Regions from separate parts of the Homo sapiens genome. Here region 1 is linked to region 2. Evidence: promoter capture Hi-C in 16 types of primary human blood cells and fetal thymus (Javierre and others, 2016). All regions are on one chromosome and are shown on one strand. The core of a region is centred on a gene start or on the middle of the fragment in contact, and the rest is flanking DNA. Distances in the headings are between cores, read along the strand shown. Region 1 has its middle 15 kb from the start of CITED2. Region 2 holds the start of ECT2L (epithelial cell transforming 2 like).

Evidence for each region. The method cuts DNA at HindIII sites, captures the fragments that hold promoters and counts their contacts. A CHiCAGO score of 5 or more calls a contact.
Region 1: a contact is called between a fragment that was not itself captured here and the fragment with the promoter of ECT2L in region 2, in 2 of 17 cell types (megakaryocytes and M2 macrophages). The highest score is 5.8, in megakaryocytes.

Annotation. Positions count from the first base shown.
Region 1 is chr6:139,357,470-139,361,741 of GRCh38, forward strand. No RefSeq gene overlaps it. Among named protein-coding and RNA genes, the nearest start is that of CITED2, 15 kb to the right of the region's middle. The HindIII fragment of the contact is 9,947 bases long and covers 1-4,272 here.
Region 2 is chr6:138,794,594-138,798,542 of GRCh38, forward strand. ECT2L (epithelial cell transforming 2 like) reads left to right here and starts at 1,494. Exons shown (of 22, transcript NM_001077706.3): 1 at 1,494-1,599. The HindIII fragment of the contact is 4,734 bases long and covers 1,261-3,949 here.

The DNA.
Region 1 (4,272 bases), core at 1,522-4,021, 560 kb after region 2:
TTTTGAGATGGAGTCTCGCTCTGTCACCCAGGCTGGGGTGCAGTGGCATGATCTGGGCTCACTGCAACCTCCACCTCAAGTGATTCTCCTGCCTCAGCCTCCCAAATGTTTGGGACTACAGGCACGTGCCACCATGCCCAGCTAGTTTTTGTATTTTTGGTAGAGACGGGGTTTCACCATGTTGGCCAGGATGGTCTTGATCTCTTGACCTTGTGATCTACCTGCCTCGGCCTCCTAAAGTGCTGGGATTACAGGCATGAGCCACCGTGCCCGGCCCAGTTTGACGATTTTTAAAGTGTTGTGCTACCTGTTGAGTTCTTTAGGAGGGGCTGCCCCTGAGATGAAGATTAGAATGCTGGGAGTGGATTGGGAGTGGTCTTGGAAGCAACGCCTGTGGAAGGAAGCGGAAGGACAGATTGGGCAGAAGATGAACTTCAATGCAGCCTCAAGAAAGTCCTCAGTTCATCCATGGGAAGCTCCTAGGGTGGTCTCCCAGAATTGTCCCAACTTGACGAGAGAGCCAGGCCTTTATTCCAGACACTGTATGCAGGCTGCCTCCAGAAGGGGTGTGACCTTGAGCAAGGTGGTGAGGAAATTCCAGAAGAAGGTGTCAGTTGAGGGCCATTTGCTGACAGTATTCCCAGTAATGGAGGGAAGAAGTTCTTCAGTCCTGAAGGGGGATTTGAGCAGCACTTCACAATGTCCATTACTTACTGTAATATTGGTGCAAGACAATGCTAGAAGCCTTATCCAAGGAGAAAAAAAGTGAATTTTAATACAGACATGTTATATCTCTCATATTGTTTCCTGAAAAGATCATTTTTAAGTGACTTTGAAAGTATACATAAAATAGAAGTCCCTCCCAAACATATACTTCAGGAAAATATTTAAAAGCAAGCAAGCAAACAAACAAAATACAGTGGAGATGAAAGTTGTGTTAGTATTAGTATGATTAGTCAAGATAATTTTGTTTCATGTGTTTGATCACAATTCAAATTAGTTCTGGAAGGGAAAATTTTATTGTCTCTCGTAACCAAACTTCAGGAAGGGTTAAGTTGCACCTAGACCTCAGGGACTCAGATAGTAACAGATTACCTTTTTGTTTCTGCTTCTTTCTTCATATTTTCTGTTGATACGGTTTGGCTGTGTCCCCACCCAAATCTCATTTAGAATTGTAGTTCCCATAATCCCCATGTGTTGTGGGAGGGACCTGGTGGGAGGTCATTGAATCATGGGGGCAATTACCTCCATGCTGTTCTTGTGATAGCTGAGTGAGTTCTCACGAGATCTGATGGTTCTCTCTGCCACCATGTGAAGAAGGACGTGTTTGCTTCCTCTTCTGCCATGATTGTAAGTTTCCTGAGGCCTCCACAGCCATGCTGAACTATGAGTCAATTAAATCTCTTTCCTGTATAAATTACCCAGTCTTGGGTATATCTTCTTAGCAGTGTGAATACAGATGAACAGAGTGTGTATTCTCCCACACTCACTTCTTTCACACGGCTGGAAGTATGGCTAACAGCAGTTTACAGGCTCATAGTTTCATCACTAAAGAGGACTTAAAACTTGATCTCTCTGTTGTCAAGTTAAAAGCTCCTGGGGGAGGGGGAGGAATGCAAATTAAAACCACAGTGCAATACCACCTTACTCCTTCAAGAATGGCCATTATTAAAAAGTCAAAAGCAACAGATATTGCTATGGATATGGGGAAAAAGGAACTTTTATGCAGTGCTGATGGGAATGTAAATTAGTACAACCTCTATGGAAAACAGTATGGAGATTCCTTAAAGAACTAAAAGTAGATCTACCATTTGATCCAGCAACCCTACTACTGAGTATCTACCCAGAGGAAAAAAAGTCATTACATGAAAATAATCTTTGCACGTGCATGTTTATAGCAGCCCAATTCACAATTGCAAAGATGTGGAACTAGCCTAAGTGCCCTTTGACTAATGAGTGGATAAAGCAAATGTGGTATATATACACCATGGAATACTACTCAGCCATTAAAAGGAATGAAATAATGTCTTTGCAGCAACTTGGATGAAGCTGGAGGCCATTATTCTAAGTGAAGTAACTTGGGAGTGGAAAACCAAAAACCATGTGTTCTCATTGATAAGTGGAAGCTGAGCTGTGAGTACGCAAAGGCATACAGAGTGATATATTGGACTATAGGTACTCAGAACAGGAAAGGTGGAAGGGGGGTTAGGGATAAAAAACTACACATTAGGTACAACGTACACTACATGGGTGATGGGAGCACTAAAATCTCAATTCACTGCTACATAATTCATCTGTGCAACAAAAAACTATTTGTGCCCCCAAAATTACTAAAATGAAGAAGAAAGGAAGAAAGCTAACTCCTGTGGGAAGGTTTCTGTTGGGTCAGTGTTATCCACAGACCAATTAGCTGCAGCCAGAGGGTAAGATGAAAGTGTGATGAATGTTTCAACTGGGCCCATCTGGGCACCCCTAGCCATTCACTGTGCCCAGGGCACATAGGATTATGGGAATTTTCACATGGACGTATGTAACTAAAGTGAAAAAGTGGCATTTTGTGGAAGGGTAGGACAAGCAATGAGTAGACAGAACAGAAGATGTTCACGGCCATATATTAGAGTTTTCTTATCTTCCGTGTTTGAATCTTGTCAGGCTGTTTTTATATTCTTTTTGGCTTTGTCATACGGACCAGTGCATTTATTATGGAAATAGATTATATAGCTATCAGTAATTTGTTCATAAATATTAGATTCTGTTCATTTTGCACAGAGATTAATCACCTGCCAAAATGTACATGATTTTCTTGGTGCAGAAAAATTACTTATTAGTCATATTAACAAGGGAATATCAAACATATTTTGAAGGGCTAGAAATGAAGACATAATGACCATATACTTCTTTTTAATAGAATATTTATTTATATTAACAAATGTTGCTTTATAGAAGACATTTCAACCTTAATCAAGTAAACCCTCTCTGAGTGATTTATGATATAATTTTGTTAGCTATATATGTCTTTATTATATGAAGAAGATTTGGAAAAAAAAAAAACTTTAAAAAGAGTCCCTGTCAATTACAGCTTAAAATCTATGCCTTGAAACAGAAATTTTAGAAAAGGTCTGCTTCGCTGTTAACTCTTCTGGTGATGGAGTTGTCAGTTTAATATCCATTTCACACCGAGGTGATTAAGTCAATTGTGATAATTCCACCCCATGGTAAAACCAATCCCAGTGGTTGGTTGGTTCAGAAATTGGTCCATGACATGATACATGAAGAAAAGGATGGTTCTGGAGAAAGTTTTCTTTTCCCTACTTGTCACGTGAGCTCTGCTCATGCCACCTGTCACCGGTCCACGGTGCGGCCAACACTGACGACAGCCCAGGAGAGAGATGAGAGAAGCCTGAGTCTTTGTGGACATTATTGATCAGTGAATTAATCAACCCTGAAGCCTGCCCTTGCCTTCTTGACTTTTGACAGATAATAAATGTATTTCTCATGGTTTAAGCCAGAATCAGGATTTCTATTATTTGCAGCTAAAAATTTCTTAATAGATATGATTGCAAAGTAGAAGAGAGAAACTTATTATCAAATAATTGTAATACTGTGTACGTAATCCATACAAACAGAGGTATTTATAAGGTATAGGGGTGCTGCAAAGTAGGGAGGTATATGAGGAAGTTTCTCAGAGAAGAAGATACTTAAGGTGGGTATTGAAGGACATTTCAGCAAAGGAATGAAGATGAGGAAGTGCCTTTTGGGCAGAGGGAGCAGCATGTGCAAAAGCACAGAGTAATAAAATAGATATTCTCAAAATCCCTCAAGTTAGACAAATTACAAAAGGCATAGACACATCTTACAGGAACTGTGGGTATGGTGGGTGCTAATCAGGAAACCAGGAAGTTGCCCGGGACAGATGTGTCTTCCCTCTCCATCTATCTTGATTTAGCACCAGATGGTCTCTTACTATTGCTTTGTTCAGGCAATGTGTTCCACTCTCCCGCTGACTTCTGCAAACCAGTTTCTCTGCTCTTCAGTATGAGTGCATGGCTTCCAGAGGACATTACAGGGTCAATATTAGATAATTTCACTAAAAACACCTCCATGCTTTCTTTGACTATAGTTTCTCTGTCTCTTTGTTGGAGTTTTCCCGGCCAGCCAATGTGCTAGCCTTTCCTGACAGCTACTTGCCCATAGTCCAATCTGCTGTATCATTGGGAGACAGGGTCATTATGGTATAAACATGGCTGCCCAGATTCACCATTTCAGTTGGCC
Region 2 (3,949 bases), core at 244-2,743:
ATTTTTGGCTTTCTGAATTCAAAGTATTTTGATCAGTAAATTGGTCTTTTTAATACCCCTTTTAAAAATTACAGCATCATGGAGGAAACTTCATTTGGGTTGTGAGAATAGGGATTTAAGGGGGAAAAAGTCGTACTCTAGGGTCTGACAGGGCGAAAGGACACTTTGTCATGTGACATGTTTTTCTTGGATTGGTCCTGAGATAGAGTAAAGCAAAAAGCTGGTTCCTGCGGGTTGTGACAGAGCAGTGGATTGACCTTGTTTATTCACTTGGTTCATTCGCCCTTTGTGTCACAGGGCCCTAAATGGGTCCCAGGTAGCGAAATATTAGCTTATCTAATTTGTATCCTTTCACACTCCTTAAACACATGTTCAAGGAAACAGGAAAAAATGCAGTGCCTGGATTAGAATAAAATTTAAGGCCTGGTTTGGTGACAGGCACCAGTACTTTTAGCTACTCTGGAGGCTGAGGCGGGAGGATTGCTTGAGCCCAGGAGTTCTAGGCTATAGTGTACAATGATGATTTTACTGGCATACAGATGAAAAAGAAAAAGATATTTGAAATAAAAATAAAAATATAGTGCACAATGACCAGGCCTGTGAATAGCCACTGCACTCCAGCCTAGGCAGCATAGCAAGATCACATTTCTCATATGAAACTTTACTAGAATGAAACTTATGGTTTATTACATAGATGTTGCTTATTCGTTGTAGGAAAAATTGAATTACAGATGATTTTTAAAACTACCAGAGCAAACCATTTAACCTATTTGTGTACATACTCCCAGATTTCTTACACACGTTGCAAAAAAAATAGATCGTACCATTCTGCTGGTTTTCTAAGCTGCTTTTTGTAAGTAATGTACTGTGAGCATCTTTTCATGGCCATAACTATTACATACAAAAGAAAAAAACAGGCTTCACAATAAATAGTTAAAAGACATTTTGACCTGAAACTAATGAAGAAGGGTTTTTTGGTTTTGTTTTTGTACCTCCTGTATAATGCTGAAATTGGTAATTCTGCAGTAAATATTAACATTTTCTGAGGATCTGCTGAAGATGAATGTGACAAAAAATAAGAAACTCCACTTTCCTCATCACACAGCCTTAATTAACATCGCTGGCTTTGTTTGAGATCAAGCAAACGTTGGCTTCAGTGTCCAAGTCTCTTCTTGGGGTCCCACGGCCTTGGGTCTGGCACCTCTGCTGGGCACCTCGCAGGGCTTCCGAGACGTGCCGCGACCCACGGGACCCCACGGAAGCTTTCTCCCACCGCAAGCTCCCTGGAGGCAGGGAAAGGAGCCGGGACCCGAGCCTAGCTGGCCTCAAGAGAAGGGCGGTGGCTCGCACGGCGCGGGCGGCTTTGCTCACTGCAGCTGGGGAGATGCAGGTTGGCCGTCCGGGCGCGGCGGCGGGAGGGGCTGCGGGCCTGTGGGGCGGGGTGGTGGCTCCGTGTTGTTGGATCCCTATGGAGATGACCCTGTCCCTGCCCCACCCCTCTCCGGAGCTGCGGCCCGAGTTGGCGCACTCGATTTTCACTGCGCGGTTCCAAGAGGAGACAGCCGCCACTGTACCGGGCCTCATAGCCACTTCCTAGAGGTAAAGCCCGTGGCTTCTGAGCCGCTAGTCTTTTTCTTGGGGCCGCCCGGGGCACATCGCCTGGGCCGGCTTAGTTTCCCAGTGCAGTCGCCCAGGAAGACCCTAAGCAGCGCTGAGGGGCGCAGGGCCCTCCCTCCGCGACCCTGGAGTCCCTTAGCAGCTCTGGAATTAACCAAGATTCTGAAGAGGCTCTGGGGAGAAACAAAATCCACGCGTAGGGTAGGGTTTGCATCGGGCCATGCCAAGTAAACTCTTACCTCCTCCAGAGAACTGATTTGGGATCGAAGTAAAGTTCTTGAACACTTTGGAAAACGCTGATTTTCATAGGTTCACACCAACTGCCTTCTTCCTTCTGACAGTTCTCTCCCTCTTTCCTCCTATGGGGTCCAAAAATGTAGGGAGTAGGGTGGGGGCTGGGTTGGGGGAATGAGGGAGGAATACAAAAAATCTACTGTGAATATAGGTCTTGGTTATAAGGATAGCTCTAAGAGTTAATATGCTAAGATTTGATGAGCAGGACAAATAAAACAGTGGTACTTTAAAATATCGATTTAAAAATACCGATGCTGTGCTTATTAATAAACTTTGCATATGTATCAGAACACAATATCCTGACATCATTGGTGTTAAAGTTCACTGCAACCCATGCAATTGTATCCAAGCCTGTTAAAGTCTGTTCTGCAGGAACTGACATTTGTGCTCCACAGAAACCTCAAAAATCATGCTCTACAAACACTTATTTCAGTGGGAGGAAGAAGGGTTAAGGACTTGGAAGTTTTATAGCAACAGTTGCATCTTGTTTGTTACAGCTTTAGTTTTATAGCTTTAAACTTATAAATCAGTGAGCACATCCACCATTTGAAAATACCAGCACAAGTATGGTATTTTCTATCACCGCCTGTAAGATCAATAGCCCAGGTTTCCTCAAAACACGCCATTATTTTCATTATCCATTGCTTAGTGTGTACTTAATAAAAATTATATACTGGCATGTAGTTTTACATGCCCTAAATGTGGGACATTTAACTCAACTGGAATTGTCTTTCATTTCTGTTTTTTCACCAATCACACTTACTTTTCTTCTACTCCCGTTCTTTTGTGCGATCTTTAGAACCAGATACCTTTTTGGAGGCATATTTAAGGAAGTAAATTTTTGATAAATAAAGGAATCATTGCACAATTTGCATGTGTGAATTGCAGAAGTACGCGCATGTAGGTACATACCTCTGCCGAGGAGCAGTGTTTTAATTTCTAAGCCACTCTGTCTACTGTAGTGGAGAAGGACCAGACTAACTTGCATTTCTCCAGCTGTATAACAGATAACCTGTGGAAACACAGTTAATTGACATCATTGCTCTTCTGTGTGATCCCAGTGAGGATTTAGCTCTCTATATGGGCTGGCAATTGTTCAGCCATTTCATCTTTTAATCTGGCTTTGGTTGTTCTGAGAGGAAAAAAAAAACAAAAAACTTTTTTCTCTTTACTCTCACACACTCAGTACAGCCCTTCACCTCTTGTCACCAAAATGTATGGGAATTTCTTCCCACCGACAACCAATTCTCCAGTGGCCACCAACTCTACGTCCTATAATTTAACCCAGTTCTGACACTGTGTACCTGGAGTTAGTGTCAGATCCCATACGTTCAGGGCTCAGTCCCAAAAGACTGCCCCCCACTTCAAATGCCAATCACAAGTCCCAGGTTGTGACTATATGTTGTTTATGATTAACCAACCAGTTACAAATCTGGATTCCCACAAGCCCCTCCTCCGGTTTGATTAATTTGCTAGAGTGACTCACGGAATTCAAGGAAACACTTTACTTATGTTTGCCCATTTATTATAAAGGATATTACAAAGGACAGATGAATAGCCAGATAGAAGAGAGGCCCAGAGAAAGGTATGTGGGCAAGGGTGTGGAACTTCCATGCCTTCTCAGCCCCTCCACATGTTCAGCTATCCCAAAGATCCCTGAATCTTGTCCTTTGGGATTTTAATGGAGGATTCATTCATAGGCACAATTGATGACATCATTGGCCATTGGTGATCACTCAACTTGAGCCCTTCTCTCTTCCCCAGAGGTCAGAGGATGGAGCTGAAAGTTCCAGCTGCATAATCACATGGTTGGTTTCCCTGGTAACCAGCCCCCATCCTGAAGCTATCTAGGGGTCCACCAAGATTCACTTCATCTGAACAAAAGATGCTCCTATCACCCAGGAAATTCCAAGGGATTTCGGAGCTCTGTGTCAGGAACTGGGGTCAAAAACCAAATATTAGAACAAAAGATTCTCCTAGCATCCCTATCTACAAGAGTTTTAGGAGCTGTATGTCAGGAACCAGGGACAAAGATCAA